4 separate regions of the Homo sapiens genome follow, and regions 1, 3 and 4 are each linked to region 2. The links are contacts of gene promoters, found by promoter capture Hi-C in blood cells and fetal thymus (Javierre and others, 2016). All regions are on one chromosome and are shown on one strand. Each heading gives the region's core, a stretch centred on a gene start or on the middle of the fragment in contact. The rest is flanking DNA. Distances are from core to core; before and after follow the strand shown.

The links. Contacts are between HindIII fragments. The CHiCAGO score rates a contact against its expected background, and 5 or more counts as called.
Region 1: the fragment with the promoter of CENPE here is called in contact with the fragment with the promoter of INTS12 in region 2 in 1 of 17 cell types (naive CD8 T cells); the score reaches 5.4 in naive CD8 T cells.
Region 3: a contact is called between the fragment with the promoter of CYP2U1 here and the fragment with the promoter of INTS12 in region 2, in 1 of 17 cell types (total B cells). The highest score is 7.9, in total B cells.
Region 4: a fragment that was not itself captured here is called in contact with the fragment with the promoter of INTS12 in region 2 in 1 of 17 cell types (monocytes); the score reaches 5.8 in monocytes.

The regions. Positions count from the first base shown.
Region 1 is chr4:103,196,529-103,203,324 of GRCh38, reverse strand. CENPE (centromere protein E) reads left to right here and starts at 4,982. Exons shown (of 49, transcript NM_001813.3): 1 at 4,982-5,061; 2 at 6,475-6,566. The coding sequence starts at 5,006. RefSeq lists an enhancer at 4,566-5,120. The HindIII fragment of the contact is 3,749 bases long and covers 2,188-5,936 here.
Region 2 is chr4:105,707,318-105,713,776 of GRCh38, reverse strand. INTS12 (integrator complex subunit 12) reads left to right here and starts at 5,088. Exons shown (of 8, transcript NM_020395.4): 1 at 5,088-5,139. GSTCD (glutathione S-transferase C-terminal domain containing) reads right to left here and starts at 4,993. Exons shown (of 12, transcript NM_001370181.1): 1 at 4,761-4,993. It overlaps LOC124900747 (a long non-coding RNA gene), which reads right to left. Exons shown (of 2, transcript XR_007058214.1): 2 at 5,681-5,876. RefSeq lists an enhancer at 4,764-5,013. The HindIII fragment of the contact is 4,662 bases long and covers 3,982-6,459 here.
Region 3 is chr4:107,925,854-107,933,100 of GRCh38, reverse strand. CYP2U1 (cytochrome P450 family 2 subfamily U member 1) reads right to left here and starts at 1,552. Exons shown (of 5, transcript NM_183075.3): 1 at 968-1,552. The coding sequence starts at 1,457. CYP2U1-AS1 (CYP2U1 and SGMS2 antisense RNA 1) reads left to right here and starts at 982. Exons shown (of 7, transcript NR_125929.1): 1 at 982-1,130. The region is part of intron 1 of LOC107986298 (a long non-coding RNA gene); the gene reads left to right. It overlaps LOC124900751 (a long non-coding RNA gene), which reads left to right and starts at 1,516. Exons shown (of 2, transcript XR_007058221.1): 1 at 1,516-2,128; 2 at 3,198-4,956. RefSeq lists enhancers at 815-884, 945-1,014, 1,675-2,182 and a silencer at 1,225-1,814. The HindIII fragment of the contact is 6,450 bases long and covers 1-2,831 here.
Region 4 is chr4:108,624,559-108,630,919 of GRCh38, reverse strand. It overlaps RPL34 (ribosomal protein L34), which reads right to left. Exons shown (of 5, transcript NM_001319236.2): 5 at 5,550-5,792. The coding sequence ends at 5,708. Among named protein-coding and RNA genes, the nearest start is that of RPL34, 7.2 kb to the right of the region's middle. The HindIII fragment of the contact is 1,510 bases long and covers 2,647-4,156 here.

The DNA.
Region 1 (6,796 bases), core at 3,733-6,232, 2.5 Mb after region 2:
TAAGTGTCTGGCATTTCCCCTGCTCCCACTCACTCTCCTGCCTCCTTGTGGAAAAGGTGCCTGCTTCTGCTTCGCCTTCCACCATGATTGTGTTTTCTGAAGGCTCCCTAGCCATGCAGAACTGTGAATCAATTAAACCTCTCTATAAATCACCCAGTCTCGGGTATTTCTTTATAGCACCATGAGAACAGACTATTACAATGTTCATGTGTACTCATTGATTAACTCTCACTTATAAGTGACAACATGCAGTTTTTGACTTCCTGTTTCTGAGTCATTTCACTTGGGACAATGGCCTCCAGTTCCATGCATGTTGGTTATTATCCTTTTATTTTATTTATTGATTTTTAATTTATTTATTTCATGAATAAGTTCTTTAGTGGTTATTTCTGAGATTTTGGTGCAGCCATCAACCAAGCAGTGTACACTGTACCCAATGTGTAGACTTTCATCTCTCACCCCCTCCCACCCTTTCCCCCAAGTCCCCAAAGTTCATTGTATCATTCTTATGCCTTTGAGTCCTCATAGCTTAGCTCTCACTTATAAGTGAGAACATATGACGTTTGGTTTTCCATTTCTGAGTTACTTCACTTAGAATAATGGTCTCCAATTCCATCCAGGTTGCTGTGAATCCCATTATTTCATTCCTTTTCATGGCTGAGTAGTATTCCATAGTATGTATACACCACAATACTCTGGATTATCTTATTAGAAGCAGCCCTGCCTCTTCACAATTTAGTCATGAAAAAGGATAATCTCTATGAGCTCAGAGCTAGATAACCAAAACAAATCTGAATGAGTAGACTCCATTTTACACACTGATTTATGTCAACTAATTTCTTTAACTTGAGAGAAACTAATATTCATGTGGTTAAAATATTGTTATGAAATAATATAAAATGAAAGGTGAATCTGTTTTCCAACTCAGTCCTTTCCCTCCAAAGAAAGCTAGGTGTATTCTGTGTATCTTTCCAGAAATTATGCCAATAAGTATTTGAGTAATACTTAAGTAATAAGTAATTTTTAATTGAACGTTTACTCTATGCCAAGCATCTTTGTACACACAGGGGACAAGGAGTAAACAAAAACTATGTCACTCTAGTGGGAGGAGACATATATACATAAATTAATACTCATACACATATTATGTCTAAAAGTTACAAATAATCTTGTAACTAATTTAAGAAGAAGATTTAAGAAATAGAAGTAACATACAATGGAGTTGGTGTTTTATAGAGAGAGAGCTATGAGAGGGTGACATTTGAGTAAACACTGGAATCAATGGGAAGGAGGGAAACATGTATATCTGGAGTGAAAGCCTTCCATCCAGACACAGCAGCCAGTGCAAAGGTCTCAAGAGGGGGTTTGTCTGGGATTCAGGAAACTGCCCATGGCCCGTGTGGCTGGAGTGGGGAGAGCAAAGGGGAGGGACAGTGGTAGGAGGTAAGGCCAGAGCACAAACAAAGGGCAAGATCATGTGAGGCTTGGGAGACAACTGAAAGACGTTGGGTTTTGTTCTGAGAGAAATCAGAGGGTGGGGGTGAAGGTGTGGCACTGGGGGTCTTGAGAGAGGAGTGACATGATCTGACACATTTTCACAGAATCATTCAAATTGCTGTGTTGAGAACAGACTGGCAGTGGGGGTGGGCAAGGGTGGAAACACTGAGATTAGCTCAGTGCCAGATGATGATATTTCGGACCAGGTAGCTGAAGCGTAAGTTGTGACAAACTTTTCATAGTCTGAAATTTTCTCAAGGTGGCCCTGACAGAATTTTCAGGTGAGAAGCTGAGCAGCATGGCTCCAGAGTCTGCACCTGGATAACTGGAAGGATGGACTTGCCAACAACTGAGAAGCAGAAAACTGCTGATTGAGCAGATTTTGAGGGGAAGAGCATGAATTTGGTATTAGACATTTTAAGTTTGCCATATATATTAGACACTCAATATGGGAGGAATTAAGGCATATGTTTGCTGTTAAGACTGGTTTTCTAGAGCAGGAGAAAATGACAAGCAGGACAGAGAGTGAGAAGGAGAGGACTGTATCCAGTGCACACATGGAGAGTTTCCAGAGTGGAAAACACACAGATGTTTATAAAGTTACAGTCTGGAAGGCGAGTATGCAAGCACAAATGCACATAGTGAGTAGCCAGATTGACAGGAATTAGGGCAAAGTCTTTTCTGGAAGCTTCTATTTTCATAGTGAAATAAAGAGTGTCTTGTTTGAAGGAATTAATGAATCCCTTTTTACCCCCTTGCTTAAAACCCTCCATAGGCTTCCCCTCACCCTTGAGAATAAGATCCAAACATTTTATCACAGCCCACAAGGCCCCATGGGTCCTGGACCTGGACCTGCCTACCTCTCTCCATTGCCACAAATGCTTCAGTCACAGGGCCCTCCCCTTTGTGTCTCAGACAGATGACAAACTCGATCAAGCCTTGGCTTCTTTGACTTACTTGTTCCTCTGTCTGGTACGCCCTTTCTCTTGTCCTCCCAAGTCTGGCTCACTCTTCTCACATAGGTTTCACTTCAAAGGTCACCTCCTCAGGTCTTTCTTGAACATCTCATCTAAAATAAACCTTCCTCCCAACACATTATTTTACTATATATTTGTTATGTATTGTCTGCTGCTTCCCACAAGAATGTGTTTCATAAGAAACTAGCACTCTTAACCCACCTTATCACTCTCTCTCTGTCTCCTGATCCTATTAATCATTACATTATGTGTGTGTGTGTGTGTGTGTGTGTGTGTGTGTGTGTGTGTGTGTAGAGAGAGAGAGAGAGAGACTGAGATTTTTCTGTATTACCCATCTCCTCTAAGAGAATAGCAACTCTACAACAACAGGTACTGTGTCTATTCTATTTACTGTTGTGCTTCCTGACCTTAGAACCGTATCTGGCACATAACAGTTGTTCAATGAATATTTCTTGATGAACAATTTGGAAAGTCAGATGAAAAAATTGGATAGAGAGCATATAATAGAGAGCCTGGCATATAGTAAATCTTCAATAAATGTCACCTGCTGTGATGATAAAAAAAGACAGTCATAGCAACGATCATAAGCACAACTATGAAAGGCTGATGACTTCTCTTTACTCGTGAACCAATCTCCTCTTGTCTCATTAGAAATTTTGATTAATCACATCTCCCTTCTTCTTCATAGGTTCCTTGCCTTCAGCTGTCTCATATTTGCCCACAATTAAAACAAAAACAACAGTTAAAATATACCTTCCTTAACTCTGTATTTTCTTACTAGATACAACCAAGTATCTTTACAGTCTAGCAATAAAAAAGAGTTGTTTATACTACCTCACAGCTAGTTAACCAAAACAAATCTTGAATGAATAGACTCATTTTTCTTTACTGTTCTTATCTATAAACTAGTTTCTTTAAATTGAAAGAAACTACTTTCATCTAACTCAGTCTACCATCTAACTCAGTCCTCACTCTGCAAGGAAATTAGGCATATTCTGTGTATCTTTCCAAAAATTATGTATGTATATCCAGACATATTCTGTGTACATAACCGTGCACCTTGAATTTCTCTTAATAAATGAAACATCTTGGATAGCTTTCTAAAGTACACATAAAAAGCTAGGCCAGGCACGATGGCTCATGCTTGTAATCCCAGCACTTTGGGAGGCCAAGGCAAGGAGGATTGCTTGAGCCTAGGAGTTCAAGACCTGCCTAGGCAACACTGTGAGACCCCACTCCCTACCCTAATCCCCCCACCACCCCGTCTCTACAAAAAAATTTAAAAATTATCTGGGCTTGTGATGTGCCTGTAATCCAAGCTACTCAGGAGGTTAAGGTGGGAACCCCACTTGGGCTGAGGCCAGGAGTTGAGCCTGCAGTGAGCTGTGTTCAGCCTACTGCACTCTAGCCTAGGTGACAAAGCAAGAACTCATGTTTATTTAAAAAAAAAAAAAAAAAAAAAAGAGAGAGAGAGAAGAAAGGGAAAATAAGCATTATTTTTGGGAAAAAATCACTGTATTTAGAATAGCTTTCCCTCTTAGTTAATAAAAGTAACAAACCAGGCCAGGAGCGGTGGCTCACGCCTTTAATCCCAGCACTTTTGGAGACCGAGGCAAGTGGATCACCTGAGGTCAGGACTTTGAGACCAGCCTTGCCAACATGGCGAAGCCCCGTCTCTACTAAAAATACAAAAATTACCTGGGCGTGGTGGCGGGCACCTTGTAATCCCAGCTACTGGGGAGGCTGAGGCAGGAGAATCACTTGAATGCAGGAGGTGGAGGCTGCAATGAGCAGAGATAAGCACCACTGCACTCCAGCCTGGGGTGACAGAGCGAGACTCCGTTTCCAAAAAAAAGAAGAAAAAAAAAGTATCAACCCATTACTCAATGAGTTTTTCAGTCCTCGGTATTTATTTTCCCTAATTCAACCTCTGAGGAAGCCACAGCTAATGGAAACGAGTTACAGAGAGAGAGAAACAGGAGAAAAGCCTAAACTCAGATTTTCTAAGGCGCACAACAGGCTTGTCACGTTTCTGGACTGGACAGCGAATTTCAACTCTTGCTGTTGAAAGTTTATTTTAAACTGTTGGTGCAGTTTCTTTAAAAGACGGCAATTCTGTTTGGGTAGTGAAAAATACATGTATCTCTACCTAGTTTCGTCTACAGGTTCCAAACTTTTTAAGGATGGGGTGGAGGATGACGTTCGCTAGCTTTTGGCAGATAATAGTATTCTGGTATTCCAGGACCACCACTCTCTGCCCACTCCTGGGAGCCCCTCCCTTCGGCCCTCTCCTCCGACTCTCTGCTGGGCCCTTTAAATCCCCTCTCCTGTTTAGCAGTGGTCACGCCGCCCGCCTTGCGTCCCCCGCGCTGCTCCGCACGTGGAATGGCCCATGACGTCACGAGGCCACGGCTCAATCAGATGCGGCGTTTGGGAAATTTTAAATTTAAAGGCGGGGCGGCCTGTGAGCCCTGAAGTGCCGGCCGCGGAGGGTCCTGGCCATTTTCCTGGGACCAGTTCAGCCTGATAGGATGGCGGAGGAAGGAGCCGTGGCCGTCTGCGTGCGAGTGCGGCCGCTGAACAGCAGGTAGGGGGGCCACACCACGGCCCGGTGCCCGCTGGGCCTGCGGCGCCGCCCTGAGCCGGAGGGGCGAGGCCTACGATGTTTCCAGGAGCCGCTGCTTCCCGGCTCTGCTGTCTAGTGACTCGGCTGCTGGCCATCGTTTCAGGGTCTGTAAAGTGACAGGGGAGGATCGGAGATCTAGAAGATACTTTCCAGCTGCGAGATTCACTTAAATTTAACTCAGTCTCGCTGACATACAGACCTTCCCTTCTGTGCTGCTCTGCCTTGCGGCATCTGCTCCTCCCTGCCCCATTCCCCGCCTAGAGAAGTCGTATGGGACCGTGCCTTCCTGGCCCTCATCACAGTTAGTCATTTTACACCTAACTGCTGTCTCCAGACCCTCTGAAGACAAGGGCTAGTCTGTCTTGTCACATTACATTCAATCGTCACTCAAGATCATTCTACAAATATTTATCAATTTTTTTTTAGTGACTTTGTACAACACAGACACTCCCGTCATTGCCCAGTGGCTCTTCCATTCTAATGGGACGAGACAGAAAGTAAAGTTGAAAATGTAGGATGTTAAGTGGTGATATGTAGGTAATAAGTGCTAGGGAGAAAAAGCAGGAAGAGGAATAAATGAAATCGGTTTGCTTCACTAGCTTCTGGCCCTCGACCCGAAATGCTAACACTTTGTGTGTGTGAGAAATTTTTATTGAACACGGGGTTTAATAAATGCAAATACCAAGATCAGGAATTTCCTATTTTTGAGGAGCTCATTATCTAATGCCTTAAACGGCTACATAAAGAAACCATTAGGATACCTTTTGACAAGTGTTATGATGGGCAGGTAGAGAATGTTTGCTAGAGGAGTTATTAGCCCATCAGAGACGAAAGCTTCCCGTGGGGTGAACTGGTGTCAGAAAAGTCTTGACGCTTTTCATGAGTGAAATAATCCCTATGTTACTTAATGGAAAGGGAAGTCAGAGTATTCCAGGCACAGAGAGGTTACATCTGTCATTTGGGGAAGACCTTCAGGTAGAGCTTAGGATGTATCTAGGAATTCAGAGGAAAATGGAAGAGAGAAATGACATGATCTAGGACTCGTGCCCTGCTGAGGATTTCATAAGTTTCCAAAAGGTTTTAAGAATTTTAAGCAAGACAGACATAATCAGAGTTGCATTTTGAATCCATCCCTTTGTTTACCAGTACTGGGGGAGAGGGTGAGAATGAAAGCCTTCACAAGAAAACACTTTTGAGGCGGCAGAAGGTCACTGAAGCTCCATTTAAGAGTTGAATCCTCAAAGATGGACTTTCTGTCATTCTCTTATGTTACTATCTTTCAAAATATTCTTTAGCAGGTGAAATCTTTTCAATTATTCCTCCTATGACATGACTTTTATGACTGGTTAAAATGCGGTGTTTTTATTCTTTTAGAGAAGAATCACTTGGAGAAACTGCCCAAGTTTACTGGAAAACTGACAATAATGTCATTTATCAAGTTGATGGAAGTAAATCCTTCAATTTTGGTAAGCTTATAATAGCATCAAAAGTTACCTTGTTATCCTTTTGCTATTAAAAGTACAAAAGGCTTATCAATAATATTAGATTTGTCACTAAAGATTAGACTAAGCCTTCTATAAACTGCTTCACTGGAAACAAAATTGTTTATCCATCATGTATTTAAGTAAGGTAACCAATTGGCATTTAAAACAGTTATAATCACAGTTATCTAATTTGCATCTAGGTAGATTCCAGA
Region 2 (6,459 bases), core at 3,839-6,338:
TTGTTTTTTGTTTTTTCAAATAAGTTATCTTTGTGACTACAATTTGATAGGAGCTCAACAAATGTTAGGTAAATAAAGTTTTAAATATTACATACATTTTATTGTCCACCTACTATGTGCTAAGCACACAGAACATGTGCATTACTTCTAATGCTCACAATCCTTAAAAGTATTTTATTTCCATTATAGAGATGAGAATTGTACATCAGTCCAAAAGTATTAATTAAATTCATAAAAGATCTTATTTAGAGACATTTAAGAATAGGTATTGTTCTAATATAACAGTACTATTTATAAATAAAATTTCATAAATTGAAGCAATTTTACCAAAGTGAAAATTGTCAGATATTATGTTATTCTAAGCAAGTATGCTGGTTTCAGTAATCCTTGATATAAACTTCCATTCCAAAGGCTGGGTTATTTGACAAGTTTCTGCACTGGATTAAATTCTTTGGCAATTCTTTCCTGATTCCTTTCATTGGCTACTCTGCAGATGTCTCAGTGACCCACAGCTCAGTGTTTTGCTCTCTGCTCAATCCACACTCCATCCTTCGAATACTGGCTTTCAAACTTTTGAGCATGCCACACAATTAGGTATATATTTTATAATGTAACACACAATACACTGAATAAAATAGAAACAAAAATGTCATGAAGCAATACTTATCCTACAATATGGGATAAATCTGATATTTTTTACTCTGTGCTTGTTTTTTTAAATGCTGGTTGTTACTCATTACATTGATTTCCTGACTCATTAATGGGGCACAACTCACAATATGACAGCACTGTTCTGGGTGATCTCCAGTGCCATAGCTTTAAATATGATCTGACTCTTACATGTATATCCCAGCCGTATCTTCTCCTCTAACTCCAGACTACTATATTCTACTTGACATCTCCATGTGGATGTTTTTCTAAACCTGCTCCCCTTCCCTTCGTGTTCTACTTCCTGGTAAAATGGCAACACCAATTACCCAGATGCTTAGGCCAAAAACTCAAAAGTCCCACTCAACTTCTTTTTTTCTCTCTCTCATACCCTGCCATCTCTACCTTTGAAGTATATGCTAAATCCAACTCCTCAGCACCTCTACCACTACCACCTTAATCTAAGTCATCGCCAGTGCTTACAAGGACTACTGCAAAAGCCTATTAACTATTTTCCTCCACTTTCCATAAAACAGTCCATTCTCCAACAACAGGGTGATCCTTAAAAACATAAATCAGATGTCTCGTGCTCAAAACCATCCAATGGCTCTTCAGCACACTCAAAATAAAATCCAAATTTCCTATTATGGCCTATAGGCCTACTGTGACCCTAGCTATCCCTTTCTGACCTCATCTCTTATCCTTCTTCACTCCCTTCCAGCCATAGCTGTCCTTGCTGTTTTTGGAAGGTGCCACTTGAGAATATTTGTACTTGCTATTGCTTTGCCTAGAATGCTTTTCTCCAAGAGATTCACAGGGCTTGCTCCCTCATTTCATTGATTTTTCTGCATAAATATTAACTCAGAACAGCCTCTCCTGACTGCCTGAATTGAAAAAGCACACCCTAGCCTCTTACCTAGCTTCCCTTTTTCTTCATAGCTCTTATCACCTAACACTATAACATCTCCAGTGCTTAATGAACTGAAACTTTAGTTCAAGGAATGAATGTACATATATGAATGTCAGAAATCACTGTCTGAGAGTATTATTAATAACTTTAGTCTTGGTACAATGTGTATCTCATTCTTCATGACACCATTCTTTCTTTTCCAAATTAATAACTCTATTTTAAGGACCAACTAAGTATAAATTAAAATGAAGAAATAAGATCACCTTTGTGAGGTGAATCGGGAAAAGTATAAATGGAATCTAACCAAACTCATAAATAAAGCAAGCACAGAAGTTTTTATGTATACTTATATCCAGGGCAAAGGAACTAAGAATCTTAACTAGATTCCATACATGTGCCTAGCAAGAATATTTATAAAACAAGAATTATAAAGTAATAGATTAGAGCCGAGACTGTTGAGCCAGACCACCTGGGTGCAAATATACTGGTTCTGATTCTTAGTAGCTATAAAAAACTTTTCTGCATATCTGTTTCCTCACTTATATAATAAAATGGAGACAATAATAACTGTACCTACCATGTAGTGTGCCATACAGAAAAAAGCTTGTCACATATTAAGTCCTTAAATAAATACTAGCTACTATTATTTCTTTATAATTTATAACCAAATTCCTTATCAACTGGCACTATTAAAATATGCAAACCTTGATGGGCAAAACCCAAATTATGGTTTATATTTTCAAGCTTCTTTCCATGAAAGGTAAAGGATTTATATTGATTGAAAAGTTTTTCCCAACCAAATACTGAAAAAAAACATATTTGTTACTGAGGCTGAAAGCCAGGGAATCATGAAATGGTAAAATATAAACGTGAAACCCTTAATCCATGTGCATATCAACCTATTGTACAAAATAAGAAGTTCAACACAGTTTATAAGTATGAAAAATCACAAACACTTACTTTTCTTAAAGATTAAAATTTAAACCTGCCTAAATTCTCTCCTACATCATATGTTCAACATTTTGAATTTTATAACTTATCTTGTGTTTTATGCTTTTCATAAAACAACAGTATTTGGCTGAAAATTGTACCCTATTTTATTACAATAATATAGATTTAACCAAAACAAAACAAAACAAAAAAACATGCCCCTCAACAGATAGATAGCAGCCAATTACCTTAAATATTTAGGGTCAAAAACGATAAGAAAAACACTGAGATTTTTTCAAGCTCATTAAATACGTAATATGGGATGCAGTTAAGTCCTAGAGAACAAAAGCCAGTGATTAAAATTAGCTGTTTTCTTATCTGGTAAAGAAGTAGGAAAAGTTTTTAAGTGAAAAGCTTACAGTAACCTTAGCCACAAACGAAGTGTGTAATCTCTCTGGAGAATCAGGGAATCATCTGTTGCCATGGAGTCATAATGCCTTCAGCTAAACCCGACCTCATAATTAACAGTGATCGACAGCGCAAATGGCTAACATGTTACCAAGTATGAAATAAAATTACTGAATTTTCACAGCAAACAATACCTGTGCTTGTTTTAATCTAAATGGTTTCAATATCTGCATTCCAAGTATTTATTCTTTGTTAGAAAAGCTAATTGGATACTCAGTATTTATTTTTATTTAAAAATCACAGATGATGAAACAAAAGCTACAAGTAAAACAAGTTTAAAAAAACAAAAACAGGCCGGGCGCGGTGGCTCACGCCTGTAATCCCACCACTTTGGGAAGCCGAGGCGGGCGGATCATTTGAGGTCAGGAGTTTGAGACCAGCCTGGCCAACATGGTGAAACCCCTCCTCGACTGAAAAAAAAAAAAAAAAAAAAGGAGCCGAGTGTGATTGTGGGCGCCTGTAATCCCAACTACTCGGGAGGCTGAGGCAGGAGAATTGCTTGAGCCCGGGAGGCGGATGTTGCCATTGCAATCCATCCCCAGGCGACAGAGCAGGACTCCAGCTCAAAAAAAAAAAAAAAAAAAAAAATTGATGGGCCCACTACTACAGAAGCTCAAGTTTGAGCTGTGTTTAAATTAAAGCAAAAACACGTAGAAGTGCAAAGTATATAAAATAAAAAGAAATGATGATTCTCAAATCTCATTGACCTTTTCAGTCTTATTTTTGAAGTGAGACCTCACAAAACGATACTTTCAGGTGTAATACAAACACAATTTTTAGTAATGAGTGTGCTTAAAGCAATCCTCTCAGTGGTGTATGCTCCCCATCAGGCAGTTAAAAAAAAAGAAAAAAAAACCCGCATAGCTTAATGTTTATTAAATATGACAGCGAATCACTTAGTTGTGTTATAACAGTTTATTATCATGGATTTAAATGACTATGTTTACATGTTTAAAATTATCACATCACTAGTTCTTGCTAGCTTTTGCATTTTCTCCTGTAAACATTGTTTTTACAGATAAGCTTAGGTAAAATAGAAATACACCACCTTCTTTATCAATAATGTAGCACACAATATATTACTAAAGCTGGCATTTTCTTGATATTCAAGAATTTATGACAAGGAATGGGATCCTGGCATTAAGAATAAAGGGGAAAAAAACAAGTCATCTCATCCCAAAACCAGGTAGAAAGTTGGGATGGGAAGTACGTGTATTAGCAAACGTTTTTGAAACCAAAGCAACTTTCATGCAAATTAAACTTTCTATAGAAGTTAAAAACCCAAGAGATACTGCTGTGATGACAAAACATAAGCAAATGGCCCCAAATGAAGCAAGTCCTTTGGAGTAAATGTTAAGTAGTATTCACATAGAACTGCTTTCTGCAATCAGGAAGGGCTGGAATGGAAAACTCAATGCCAAAGAGAGAAGAGAAGTTAGTGTGACCCAAGAGGTCTTGAAGTAACACTTAACAGCAAATATCAAACCACCCCAACCAACGCCTCCAACTGGAAGCTGCCCCATTTCTCCATCAGCAGAGGAAGACATGAGGGACTGGCTAGGGGGAAACTGGGAAACGCGTACTACCGAGAAGCCCAGAGCCCTCAACCCGCACCTTCAGCAGGAGTGGCCAAAAAGGAGTTTGAGGCGGCCCCAGGGCGGGAGAAAAATCAGGACGATGATACCACGCCCTTGTCCTTCCCACCCTTCCCCCGCATCCTCAGCCCTGCAGACCCCCGAAGAAAAGACCAGTTCTTAGGGGGTCGCGGAGGCTGAGAAGCCGGCGGCCCGAGCGCCCTCTTTACCTGGTCGCAGAGGCGCGGCCAGGCAGGGAGGGTGCGTGAGCGTGTCGGCGACCTGGGCCGCCTGCGCCTTCCCGCCCAGTCCGAGCTGGAATTCCAAGGCTGCCTCTGGGAGCTGCTGCCCGCAGACCACTCGCCTCCACAGACGCCAGGAGAAAAACGACAGCCACCTTATGTGGAAAATACTCGCGCCGGCCGTCATTCATAATCCGGCGGACCGGAAAAAGGGAAGTAACGTCACTTCCTACTGTCGCACTGCCAAACGTTTCCCCCGCCCCTACTGTGGGAACCTTTGTTTTCCTGCTTTCGGAGCCGGCCAGTGCGGGAACCGTTTCCGAAGGGACCACCGGGAACAGACGGATCGGCAGGGCGGGGCGGAACGGTGAGTTATGCTGAGCGACTCTGCTCCTGGCCTCCTGGAGGCTCGAGACCCCCGCGCCAGGAGCGAGGTGGGAGAGTAGCTACGTGGGGTATTAGTTTCCTCGCTCCTCAAGGGGAATCATAATTTACGGGCGGTTGCGTGCCCTAGACTGACTGCTCTCCCCTTTCAGTGAGGACTGTGCTTCCTCCGAGGGAGTTGCGGGCCGGGACATGCGGACCGAGCATATTTCTAGGTCTAGGGACAAGGGACTTGGAATCCTGCCTCGGACTTTGTCGGAGGGTTTTAGTGACTTCTCTACGTAGCTCCCTCATTGTCTCTCATCTTTTGGCTCCCCTGTCAAGGACCATCCCCCATTCTAGGACTTCGATGTGTGATGCTTTGATCAAAGGATTGACATTCCTTTTCTAAGTGTTTGCTGTCAGCTTTCAGCCACTTGATTGGTTTGGAATCGGAGCCTTTTCTCCTGCGATTCCAGGTGTCCCTAAGGTATCAGTGTTATCCAGAACCAAGAACTCAGTGGAGGAATGAAAAAGGCAGCATCTTTAAAATAATGTTTATTGGAAGGGGTTGCAAGAGCTTGCGAAGTCATGAAGAACAAAGTTTTTTAGAGCCATTATGAAATGGCAACGATAATACTGCACTCTATGTGAACAGTTTCTGTTTCCTTCATCTGGGGCACGTGCATATGATCAACTTTGGACTTCTTTTGAGATTGCCAGGTAGGGTGAAAAATGGATCTAGGAGAAAGCACATACTTATATTTATATATGAATGCCCAATTTAGACTGGAGAGATCACAGAAGCCTTATAAGGTGACATTTACGCAAAAAACCTAGTTCGTTCATTCGATAAATATTTTTGAGCCCTTATTAAGTTTCAAGCACTAGGGAAATAACAGTGAACAAAACAAGTTCCTGCTGTCATCAAGTTTACAGACCAGTGGGATTAATGAATTAAGCAAGACAGGCGAAAGATTGTGAGAATTTTACAGATAGGAACATTGTACTACAAGTCCCCAGTCGTGAAAGAGGTGATTGCTTTGCTTTTGCTTTTTTGATGTTTGGAGTTTTTTTTGTGGGGGCAGGGGTGAGTTACTTTTGTGATTTTTGCTGAAGGGACCTTGGAAATGGCTACAATTGTGTAGAAGGAGAGATAAGACCACTATACTTTGATCACTTAATTCCAGTAATTCTATAGCCATTATTTTGTTGTACTTTGCAAAGTGGCAAAGAGATAGGCAAAAAGATAAATATAGACTCTGCCCTTAAAGTACTCAGAGTTTTGTAGGGGACATAACACTTGTGCCAAAAAAAAAAAAAA
Region 3 (7,247 bases), core at 303-2,802, 2.2 Mb before region 2:
CTGAAAAGCCTAGATCTTTCTTTGCCATGTTATAGGGGCAGGAAATAGCATTCATTTAATAGATACTTGAACTCCTACTATGTTTCAGACAGCAATGACTCTGTCCTCCTAGATGTCAGAACAGTGGTGAAGACTGACATCCAGGCCCAAGGTCATAAAGTTATGTAGCGTCAGTTTTGAAAAGTGTAGTGAAGGAAAAGTGCTTGGGCAAGGGACCTGGTTCTAACAAGGGAGGCTACCCTACTTGCAGAGGCTGTGAGAAAAGGCTTCCCCAAGGAAAAGGCATTTAACACCTGACTGATGCGTAGGAGTGACTCAGAAAAGAAGTCAGAGACCTAAGCCAGCCAGTAAGACAAAGGGGGACGGTAGAGACAGGTTAGATTGGACATTTTATTGCAGCAGATAACACGTTTTCCAACCCCCAAAAATGTCCAATTTAGACTCCCATACGCAGGAATCAGAGGCTATGAACCAAAGCCGGAGATTTGGTAATAGGCTTCTTCTGTGTTTTCTGGACTTTTTATCTTATTGGAAATTATCTTCTTAAATTCTTACATTCGAAACCCACAAGGTAAAAAGAATATCCTTCCCTCTTTCTAACATGGGGGCCAAAGTTTCTCTCCGAGGTCACAGCTGGTGGAAGGGAAGGCTACTTTTGGAAAGATGGAACCTGGCTTGCCACCTTGTCCTTCCGCCATCCCTATTACTCTCCCTCAATCTCCGGATGACTTTTCTACTTATGATCTTGGAGTATGAGCAAGTCACGCGTCCGTCACTACTTGATGGGATCTTAAAGGCATCAGAAAGGAGAAGCGCCGCCACCACCATCACCTGTTAGTTCAGGATGCAGGTGTGAGGCAGCCTGGGGGCGCGGGCGGCCGGAAGGGGCACAGGAACTGCAGCCCCCACGCACCTGGAGACTCATCCGCGGCATCCGCGTACCCACAGCCCACGACCTCCCGCTCACCCTTCTCCTTGGTCACGATGGAGATGAGCGGCACCCGCGGGCGGTCGCTGAAGACCTCGGCCTGCTGCACCAGCGCCTCGCGCACGCTGTGGAAGTCGCTGAGGACCACCACCAGGTAGTGGCCGATAAAGAAGCTGAAGATGCTGCCGTACACGCGGGCTAGGTGAGCCAGGAGCACCTGCGGGCCTATGACCGAGGGATCAATCCCTGCGGCCCTGGTCCTGCTGCTCAGCCAGCTCCGCCGCCGGAGGAAGGGAGGCAGCAGCACGTGACCGAAGTTGCCCACCAGAGGCCAGGGCGTGGGCCCGGGCGGGATGCCCCGCGCCCGGCGCCTCCGCAGCCAGCTCCAGCCCAGCAGCGCTACGAGGCCGCATAGCAGCAGCGCGCCCCCGCTGGGGTCCAGCCGCAGCAGCCCCAGAGGCGCACGCAGGAGGCGCGCGGGCCAGGGCGGGTCCTCGGCCGGCGGCTGCGACGGCCCCGGAGACGACATGGTCCGGGCGCCGGCGGCCTCGGGTTCCCCTTGCTGCCTGGAGGAGACGCGCACGCAGCTGCCTGACCCGCGGCGCCAGTGTCCTGCTCTGCTCTGGAAGGTCGGGGGCGGGCAGGGGGTGTAGGAACGCCCCCGGATTGGCTGCGCCGCGCGCATTCTCCCCGCCGCCGCCACTCAGCGACGCCTGGGCGGAACCTGGAGGCGCGCCGGCTGCCTGGCGGAGGGGGTTGGCGGGCTAGCAGGCGGGGGACCTGAAGTTTGCCCCGAAGTCCGGTTACGACCCTTTGCAGGGTCGGGCTTGGCGGTGACTGTCCCTGAAACTGGGATGCTGGCAACACAACCTTGCGCTCTGATTGGCTGTTGGTTTCCCTTGTGTCATTCGTTTGTCATTATCACTCGTTTGTCAGTTGACAAACACAAACGCATGGTTATGAAGTGCATAAACCGTGTTAGGATCTGTACTGAGTGTGGGAAACTGGTGAACAGGCCCGTGAGATGGGTCGGCCTTAGCACCTGTGCCCTGAGCTGGGAGAATGGGGTCAACGCCCTATTCCTGCATGCTTCGGTGTAGTAGTGAAAAGACGGGGTTCCTTATCTAAACTGGGATTCGCAGCACCCTTTCCTCCACGCAGAGACAGCAGGATGCTGGGAAGCCGTGGAATGCAGAATCTGTGGGTGTCGGCTTGGCAGCCAACTCTGCGGAAGGGATGATGGCGGGAGTGGGGGGAGCGAGGGGCGGGCAGCGAGGCACGAGGAGTCACGTTCTGAGAGCTTGCCCTGGGCTAGAAAACTTATGCGGAGAGCGAAAGCTGTGTCCATTCCTGCGTGTGGCCTGGGTGCATTAGAAAATGTACTTAAATCCAGAAATAGCGAAACCAGAATTTGCTTGGTGGATTTAAGTAGCTAGAAATATGAAAAGAAGATAACCGGTTGAGGGAGGGGTGGCAATATTATTATTGGTGTTAGACAACACTTGAAAGGCTGAGGTTGAAATATTAGATATGAATTGTATAATACTTTAAAAACAAAGTATTACTTTATTTTATCTTCTCAGATAATGGCTTTCCTGATAAGGGCTTCCCTTTCAGTCTTGTTTAGGCCAAATCCTGTAGTTTCTGTTCAAGTTGGATTGAGCATAGAATTGTCTGTACTGGGCCATTTTTCTAGCCGTTTCATTTTTCTCCATACATTAAAAGTTTGAACACCACGCTGTACCTATAAAAATGTGATCAAAGAAAGCATAGTGAGTCCTCAAATAAATACATGATCCATTTTATTTTTCTATAAACAAGTGATGCCAGTAGGATATGTTAAATTTCAAGTCCACTCTGTTCTCATATTCTTTTTGACATGCTTTTCATGTTATTTTAAGCTTATGCACCCCAAACAAAAAAAAAAAACCTCCACACCTCTCATCTTCTATAATTAACCACTACTTGTGAGATTACTTTTCTCATTTTTTTTGAATTTTTGAATTAAGAGAAGTTTTTAAAAATTTAAACTACTTGTTTGCAGATACGATCTTCAACATGACATTCTGGATGTCATCTGATTCTAGGGCTTTGCTCTCTGAAACAGTAGCCACTATATACATCATCCCATACAAGCAATTTAAATTCATAAATGATTTTAAAATAGTTGAAGCTGTGACTAATTTAACAACTCCAACAGCCACCCTTTTATATTGTACAGGATGTAACTGCACGTGTAGTGTTTTCCTAAATCTCTCATTTTCACTAGGTTAATAGCTGTGCGGGGCAGATAGGAAATCTGGGCTGAATTCAGCCTCTCCTCACCACTATATGTTGAAGTCCTAACCCCCAGTGCCTCAGAATAAGACTGTATTTGGAGAAAGGGCCTTTAAAGAGGTAATTAAGCTAAAATGGAGTCCTGTGGATGGGCTCTTACCAATATGACTGGTGTCTGAAGAGGAGATAAGGACACAGAGAGGAAAGAGGATGTGAGGACACAGTCAGAAGGCAGCCATCTACAAGTCAGGAGAGAGGTCTCAGAAGAAATCAACCCTGCTGACACCTTGAGTTTTGACTTCTAGTCTCCAGAACGGTGAGGATATAAATATAAATTTCTGTTGTTTAAAACATCCAGTCTGTAGTACTTTGTTATGGCTGCCCTAGCAAACGAATACAGGAAGGGATATTGTTCATAATATTATGGATACACTTTTATTTTATTATTATTATTTTTTGCGATGGAATCTCGCTCTTTCGCCCATGCTGGAATGCAGTGGTGTGATCTCGGCTCACTGCAACCTCCGCCTCCCAGGTTCATGCGATTCTCCTGTCTCAGCCTCCCAGTAGCTGGGATTACAGGCCCGCACCACCACGCCCGGCAAATTTTGTATTTGTAGTAGAGACAGGGTTTCACCCTGTTGGCCAGGCTGGTCTAGGACTTCTGACCTCAGGTAATCTGCCTGCTTCAGTCTCCCAAAGTGCTGGGATTACAGACGAGAGCCACCATGCCCAGCTGGATGCACTATTTTAAACATGAAACCACACAGCTCATTCAGTGCTCCTTAAGGATGAATTTCCCCAAATTACATTCAGGGCGATTTTGCCACATAAAGGAATACTTTCTGCTTCATCTCTCTTATTTTATATAGGTAAAAAAATAATAGCAGAAGCAGTAAAGGAAGAGAATACTAAGAGATCTTTTGGGTGGGCAGAAGTGGTAAGAAAGATAGAGGATTATGGGAAAAAATCATTTTTATTGAGACCCTAAAGATAATTTTAAACCACCCACTTTCCTACCTATATCCTTGTTCGACATGGATTTTGGCCGGAATTGTTGGTCACAGTATATCCAAAATAGCTGAGTACTTATTTTGTTATAAAGAGTGGTATTAAATTACTCTATTTGTAAAACTACAATTGTTCAGTTGGTTTGTAATTCTCTGGGAGGTAAATGCCACCACACACGACACCCATCCAGAATCAATGAGCATGAACAGAGAGAGTGCATGGCTTAAGAAGGGTTTGCAAAATGCTAATGAAAAGAGAAAGTAGAAATGTTATTAGCACTATTTAGTTGCACAACTCCACTGGCCATTTAAAAATTAACACCTTTGTTCCCTTTAAGTTCTTATGATTTGCTTCATATATATTCCGTTGAGTGTCTTCTATATATGTGTTTATGTACTCTCTGAGCCTCCATGTTCCTGAACTGAAATTGGGATGATAAATATACCTATACCAAGCATAGGGATTAAATAAAATAATTAAATAATAATAATTAAATAATAGCACAATGTCTAGCAACTAGTACTCAATACATAAAAGCTGTAATTATAATAGTTATCACTGGGTTCTTGATAATAGTTTAAACTTAATAGGTTGTCACTATTGCTGCCTCTTATTCACACCTTGCAGATTTACCAGCTTTTTCCAATATTAGAATGTGAGACTTGCCAGGATATTGTTTCCTATATTTAGCCTTTATGTCTTGTATAATGAATAAATAAACGTGCCTATCTTCAGTATTACTTCATTCCTCTCCACTTGCATGTATTATGTATGATTTACTTGGAGAAGAGATGACGGGAGAAAGGCCCCTGAAAAAAATCTAAAACAGTGTAAGGCAGAATCTCAAAAGTCACAAAATCCAATTCCGAAAACATCCCTTTATTTGGTCAAGGTGGTGCCAGGATTAGGACACATTTTTTATTTAACACCAAAATGAACACAATCCAGATGTCCTTCAACAAAAGAGGGGGGCAGGGGAAGGGGAAACTATGGTATACTTATTTGATAGCTCACTACACCACAATAAAAATCAATCAGTTATGACACACTCTACAGTGTGGATAAATATCAAAAAACATGCCAAGTGAAAAAGCCAGGCACAAGAATACATACTAAATAGCTGCATTTATATGAAGTCTGGAACAAACAAAGTGAACCTATGGTGATAGACATTAGAACAGGGTGGATTGTTTGGAAAGGGAAATTGAAAATTTTTTCTAGGGTGGTAGAAATGTTCTATATCTTGACTGAAGTGTTGGTTACTTGGATGTATGCACTTGTCAAAACTTAACTGTGCATTTCACTATAGGTAAATTATACCTCAGTAAAACAATTTTTTTAAAAAAGCCAGTATCTTGGCGAAAAAGACATGGTGAAGTAAGAAGACTTAGCAGGTTTAATTTATGAGATGAATCTATTGTGAGGTGGGTACCCACAGGAACAGTTAGTCACTTTAGTTAGCCTGGCCACAATTGTTACTGATTCCTGACATTTTATTTTTGTGTACGCCAAAGCGTTGCTGAATTCTCTGTTCCTTATTTCTTCCTCATTTACTTCCATTTACTATGCAGAAATCATCGTGGAAACCACATGGGGACCTCTGTCCAAATCTAACTGGGTTGGCCAGGCTATGCTGTTAACATTTCTGATTTGTTTTCTTCATCTGGTCAAAAGAGAGAGTTATAACACAAGGACTCTTAGATTCCTCTGGTCTCTAACATTCTTCTTAAGTGGATTCTTAGGACTTTGACTTTGGCCTCTGATTAACAGCATGCTTAGTCAATAAAATCTGAAAGAATAAATTATATTTACATGGCAAAGTGTAAGCCAGTTACTTCAATAAAACTAACACAAGGGGGTTGGGCACGGTGGCCCATGCCTGTAATCCCAGTACTTTGGGAGGCCGAGGCAGGCAGATCACTGGAGGTCAGGAGTTCGAGACCAGCCTGGCAAACATGGTGAAACTCCGTCTCTACTAAAAATACAAAAAAAAAAAAAAAATTAGCTGGGCGTGGTGGCACATGCCTGTAATCCCAGCTTCTTGGGAGGCTGAGGCAGGAGAACCGCTTGAACCCTGGAGGCGAAGGTTTCAGTCAACTGAGATCACACCACTGCATTCCACCCTGGGCAAGAAAGCAAGACTCTGTCTCAAAAAAGAAAAAAAAAAAAAAAAACTAACACAAGATTGTTACCTCCTGGTTTAGGTAACTGTGCTTGGCCCTCTGCCTAATAATGAAGTCTTATTTCTAAACCTCACTGAGAATGAAGTTTTAGAAAGAAAGGACATTGAAAGGTTACTTACTTCTTCTTTTAGGTAAGAACATACTCATTGCAAACCAGATATTTCAAAGCCAATATTTTATTCTGCTTTTTAAAAGAGTAATACAGTTTTCATAGAAAATTTGAAAATGCAGGAAACTATAAAGGAGCCAACTATCACCTTTTTATTCTTACCACTCAGAGGTAATCATTTATAACATTTATGTATATATTCTTCTAGTCTTATGTATTTCTAAACTTTATAAATATTCCTATTTATAATATTCACATATTTATAAATATATGAATGAAAAGATATCATTAACATTTTCCATGTTGTTCTCCCACAAATCTTTTTTTTTTTTTTAATACTTTAAGTTCTAGGGTATGTGTGCACAATGTGAAGGTTTGTTACATAGGTATACATGTGTCATGTTGGTTTGCTGCACCCATCAACTCATCATTTACATTAGGTATTTCTCCTAATGCTAACCCTCCCCCAGCCCCAACCCCTCCACAGGCCCCAGTGTGTGATGTTCCCTGCCCTGTGTCCATGTGTTCTCATTGTTCAACTCCCACCTATGAGTGAGAACATGTGGTGTTTGGTTTTCTGTCTTTGTGACAGTTTGCTTAGAATGATGATTTCCAGCTTCATCCATGTCCCTGCAAAGGGCATGAACTCATCCTTTTTTATGGCTGCATAGTATTCCATGGTGTATACATGCCACATTTTCTTAATTCAGTCTATCATTGATGGTCATTTGGGTTGGTT
Region 4 (6,361 bases), core at 2,152-4,651, 2.9 Mb before region 2:
GTGGTAGTTACAGTAGCATGAACTAGCTGAGATAGAAATGAGATTCATAAAGACAATGTTAACTTCTTTTCTTTTTTTTTTTTGAGACGGAGTCTCGCTCTGTAGCCCAGGCTGGAGTGCAGTGGCGCAATCTCGGCTCACTGCAAGCTCCACCTCCCAGGTTCACGCCATTCTTCTGCCTCAGCCTCCGGGTAGCTGTGACTACAGGCGCCTGCCACCATGCCCGGCTAATTTTTTGTATTTTTAGTAGAGACGGGGTTTCACTGTGTTAGCTAGGATGGTCTCCATCTCCTGACCTCATGATCCACCCACCTTGGCCTCCCAAAGTGCTGGGATTACAGGTGTGAGCCACCGTGTCCAGCCAGATAGTGTTAGCTTTTCTACTCCTGGTTTAGAATAGTTGTTTACCACATCTAGTTTTTAAGAAGATGGAACTTTCCCCTTTGCAAGATTTTTAATTCTTTTCCCTTCCATTCATACAGAGAACTGGTCACATAGAGAACTGGATTCAATAAAAGGCTCATTTTGGATTTTATAAAATCAAACCCTAAACTCTTTACAGAATCGAAGTATTAATAAGTACTTATAATAACAATCAAGTCATTATCAAACATGTACCAGATATATATCAGAGCTCCTGGTACCAAGAGCATACTATATTAGTGATCATATACTGTAACTTGAGTAGTATCTAGGGATGTGCTGGTAGTATTTAACCTCCAGCTCTCTGGGGGAAAACAGGATTTTGCAGCATTTGCTGAGGTGTAAATACTCTCACCATAACAATCTCAAGATGCCAAGCAGACGTCACTGGATGCAAAACTGGAAAGAGATGCACACAACTGGCTCTCTCAAGCTGAGGTGAGGTAGCTCCAGCACACCAACTTTTTCTATTGGACCTAATAATGGCAGAATAATTATTACCGGCAATAAATAATATACTTTAGGGAAAAATCATAACATTCAGAACTGCTTCACAATCTTACTCTGTGAGGATTATATGTGATTTTAGTTGGTTTGATAAGATGCATAGTTTACAGTGAAAGTTGGACATAGCCCTGACTATCAAAATTCTGGAAGCCCAAGCTCTTAATCACTGGGGTAAAGATTATAGGATGTTATTAAGTTGCTAAAACAAACTTGATTTGCTTACTTAAACATTTGGAGATTTTATATTTTTAAGGGTAAAAGAACCCTTTCAACCTTCTAACAGAATTTATAAGCAATTCAACGGAAGGAGAAATATTAGACTTTAAAAAGAAAACCACTGACTACATTCACATGTCTTTTTAGGAACCTGTCAAGAATACTTTGTCACACACATAGAACTGGATTCAATAAGAGCTTCATTTTGTTTTTTACAAAAATCAAAACCCAGAAGAGTTATAGAATCCATTTGGGTCACTTGGACAGAGTCGTTACTATGTTCACACCCGTCAATGCTCTTTGTCTTCTAAATACTGAACTTCAACACCAACTTGTGAATATTAAAAAACAATTCAGCATAAGTGAAATAATCAGATATATAAGAAGGCTCATGTTTTAAAATAGAGAAAAACTGGAAATAGCCCAAATGTTCAAAATAAAGGGAATGTCTAAATTATAGCATGTAAATTTCATACTGCAGGCAGCTACTAAAATATTCTTTGAAAAGAAATATCACAGGGGTTATGTGGGAGAAAAAAAGGAGTTAAAAGTTTATATATGCAGTGGGCTTCCAGTTTTGACTTAAAATGTCTATTTTATTCATGGAAAACAAGATGGGAGGAAAAACATTCAACTATTAAAAATGACTGAGTAGTGGCCCAGCGTGGTGGCTCAAGCCTGTCATCCCAACACTTTAGCAGGCCGAGGCGGGCGGACATTCTGAGGTCAGGAGTTCGAGACCAGCCTGGCCAACATGGCGAACCCGTCTCTACTAAAAATACAAAAATTAGCCAGATGTGGTGGCAGGCGCCTGTAATCCCAGCTACTCGGGAGGCTGAGGCAGAATGGCTTAAACCCAGGAGGTGGAGGTTGCAGTAAGCTGAGATCGCGTCACTGCACTCCAGCCTGGGTGATAGAGTGAGACTCTGTCTCCAAAATAATAATAATAATAGTAAGTAGTGAAATTGAGATTTTTTATCATTCTATTTTTCCAAACTTTCCAAATAGTCTACAAAGCTGTTTGTTAAGTAAAACCATTTAACATACCAAGAATTCTTGGAAAAGAATGTACACCTCAATTCTTTAACTTCCTTACATTTCTCAAAGGTCACCCATTTCATATTTTGCTGAAACTTGCTAGTTCCCACCAGCTAGAGCCTGTGTCCAGTCATGTTGTTCTACCTAACTTGGAGCAGCAAGGAGAGGGAGGAGCCTCCTTCCACCAGCAAGAACTCAGGTTGGGGTGGCAAATAGGCTTTCTCTTCCACAGCAATTTTTTCAGAAATTACATCTCAAACCTTTCAAAAACTAGACTGGCCTACAGAGCAGCCAATTAGTTTAAGTTTTAAGCCACATTATTGTCTGAGTATATTATTAAAAGTGCCAATTTTTAGATGGTTATATCAAATACAATAAAACACAGTCACAGAACTGCTTGGTGCAGTATATATAAGCCTGAATCATGAGAAAGTGATGTAAATCTGCCTTAGAATTCAAGCTTTTCAATTCTATCCCCGTTTTATATTTTCAATACTGTGATTAAACATTATACAAGATAATTAATTCTATTATCCTGGTTGCTTAACAATCTTTGGGATTGGCAGGTGTTTGGAGAAAGCTAATGTATCTCAATCGTTTGAGACTATGAATGTTGACAACAGGGATCCCAGCTATCATTGATTATGCTAGCATTTATTAGGGTGCCCGGTCATTACACTTATTCACTAACACAGCTGCAAAAATCCTACCAACAATACAAATGGCTCTGGGTTTTCTATAACCTGTGTCTGTTCTCTCATCAGTAAAATGGGAATAAAGCTGTTGGAGTTGCTGGGAGGACTAAAACAAATTTGGTGGAGTCAGGCACACAGCCAATCAAGTGTACTGTGGTTAAAATTAAATTTTTTTTTTTTTTTTGAGGAGTCTCACTGTCACTCAGGCTGGAGTGCAGTGGTGCAATCTCGGCTCAGTGCAACCTCTGCCTCACAGGTTCAAGCGATTCTTCTGCCTCATTCTCCTGATAGCTGGGATTACAGGTGCATGCCACCACTTCTGGCTAATTTTTGTTATTTTTAGTAGAGACGGGGTTTCACCATACTGGTCAGGCTGGTCTCGAACTCCTGACCTCCGGTGATCCACCTGCCTCAGCCTCCCAAAGTGCTGGGATTACAGGCGTGAGCCACCGCGCCTGGCGGTTAAATTCTTAAAAGGGAGTTCAACTGCCAGCTTTGCCACTTACTAGTTCTGTGACTCCTCTTCTGCAAAACACTAATTAAAAATTTTTTATACCAAGAACAAGTTAACTGGCAGTGGGGTACAGTAAAGGTGTTATGAAATCCCATTTTTTTTGCCTTTTACCTTAAGGGGTATTCTTATTTTTTAATTATTTTTTAGGCAGGGTCTTGCCAAGCTGCCCAGGGTGGTCTCCAACTCCTGTCCTCAAGTGATCCTCCTGCCTCAGCATCCCAAGTGTTGAGACTGGGACTATAGGGGTGAGCCACTGGGTCTGGCCTAAGAAAAGGTGTTTTTTTTTTGGAGACCGAGTCTCGCTCTGTCGCACAGGCGAGAGTACAGTGGCGCGATCTTGGCTTACTGCAACCTCTGCCTCCCGGGTTCAAGCAATCCTCTTGCCTCAGCCTCCCGAGTAACTGGGATTACAGACGCATACCACCACGCCCAGCTAGTTTTTTGTATTTTTAGTACAGACGGGGTTTCACCGTGCTAGACAGGATGGTCTCGATCTCCTGACCTCATGATCCGCCCGCCTTGGCCTCCCAAAGTACTGGGATTACAGGCATGAACCACGGCGTCCAGCCAGAAAAGCATGTTCTTATGTATAGCTAAGCGGTAACTCTCCTCTGCTTAAGTAGTTACATCATGCCAGTTAGTAGGTAAATTTTCCTCAACTGAGGAAAATAGTCAAAATTTACTGAACTCCCCAGGTACTTTCAGCTTCTGCATTCCATGATGGCTCAAGGTCTCTGCTCTCTACTCAGATTGGAATAAAGCTTGTTATGGCTTTAAGAGATGGTGTTGGCCGGGTGCAAGGGCTCACGCCTGTAATCTCAGCACTTTGGGAGGCCAAGGTGGGCGGATCACTTGAGATCAAGAGTTCAAGATGAACCTGGCCAATATGGCAAAACCCCATCTCTACTAAAAATACAAAAATTAGCCGGGTGTGGTGGTGGGCGCCTGTAATCCTCAGGAGGCTGAGGCAGAATTGCTTGAACCCAGGAGGTGGAGGTTGCAGTGAGCCGAAATCGAGCCAGTACGCTCCAGCCTGGGCAAGAGCAAGGCTCCATTTCAAAAAAAAAAAAAAAAAAAAAGGTTGTCAGCCAACAGGTTGGGCAGAAGAATGGCTCATGCCTGTAATCCTGGCACGCTGGGAGGCTGAGGCAGGCAGACTGCTTGAGCCCAGGAGTTTTGAGACCAGCCTAGGAACATGGTGAAACTGTTTCTCAAAAAACCAAAAATGAGCCAGGCATGGTGGTGCCTACCTGTAGTCCCAGCTACTTGGGAGGCTGAGGCAGAGAATCACTTGAGTCCAGGAGGTGGAGGTTGCAGCAAGCCAAGATTGCACTCCAGGCTGGGCAGCAGGAGTGAAACCTTGTCTGAGCTGGCAGAAACACTACATAGTTCCCAAGAAAAATGAGGTCTGTATTTTAACATTCTGGCCTGGATAATAAATCCAATGTAGATCAGAAACTATACCCTTGACCCAAGGTTTTATATATAGTAGCTCACTCATTTGTTAAATAAGGAGTTCTGAGCTCTCCAAGATACCATTTTTGAACTGAAGTGACCTAAAAGAACAGAGGGTTTAAAAACAATCTTAAAAAGGTTCCATTCCAAGGAACTAGAATACCAAGGTTTCTATCCTATGAAACTTGCTGACGTAAAGGAGATACCATAGTAAGGATCAAAGGGATATTAAAGTTTCAAATAGAAGGGCCATTCCTCCCAAACCACCCTGAAGTCTCAGCCCACAAAGAGAAGGACATTATGCTCCAATGCAGCGGTAGAGCTGTCACCAAAAAAATTCTGGCCATCAGTGACCACCAACTGTTTCTTCAGAAAAAGTAACCCACTGGCTGGGTGCTGCGGCTCGCACCTTAACACCAGCACTTTGGGAGGCCGAGGTGGGCAGATCACCTGAGGTCGGGAGTTTGAGACCAGCCTGACCAACATGGAGAAACCTCGTCTCTACTAAAATATACAAAATTAGCCAGGCATGGTGGCACATGCCTATAATCCCAGCTACTTGGGAGGCTGAGGCAGGAGAATCACTTGAACCTGGAAGGCAGAGGGTGCGGTGAGCCGAGATCCTGCCATTGTACTCCAGCCTAGGCAACAAGAGAGAAACTCCGTCTCAAAAAAACCAAACCAAACCAAAAACAAACAAACAACAAACAAAACAAGAAAAAGTAATCTGCTAAAAACTATAGGGTCCCCAAATACCATACAGAAACAAAATCTGTATACTAACACATTACAACAGAAAAAAAAAAAGTCATACATACAGCGTCTTTTCATTTTTATTACTCAAAAAAGTTTCATTTTTTTATTTAGCTTTCTGACTCTGTGCTTGTGCCTTCAACACTTTCACAACGATTTTCTGCTCCTCGATAAGGAAAGCACGCTTGATCCTAGAAAGGAAAATACCAAATTAATCATTTCTTTAAAATGAACTTCATTTTTTATTTAGCACAGAGAAGGCAAACATGGTAAAGAACCAAGCAAAGCAATCAGGGAACCCAGGAAACTACAGGATACACAAATACAGAGTAAAACTTAAAAGGTGAAATTCATTTAAAGCAGGATAATCCTTCAATTTCATGCCAGTAGTTATCTGTCCTCCTTCTGAGTCAAGATAAACTATGAAGTCATCCCCACAGGAGACCACTTATGAGAGCTCTAATTTATTGTTAGGATCCAGGAATAGTGGTATTTCTTGATTTGCAAAATGTCTTAGAATATTTTAACCATATTTTTGAAAATTCCCAGTAAAAAACAACACATAAGGGGCTATGTGTTAAGAACTAAAATTAAAAGGTAAAGGGATATTAGCAAGAGACACCTCACCAAGAGCAAGGATTTTAGAACCTGTTTACGGCCAACTCCACCACACACTAGCTGCACACTGGACAAGTTACCTTCTCTATATTAAGGCACAAAATAGTTTCACACGTATTTAACAGGGAGTTTATGAGGATTA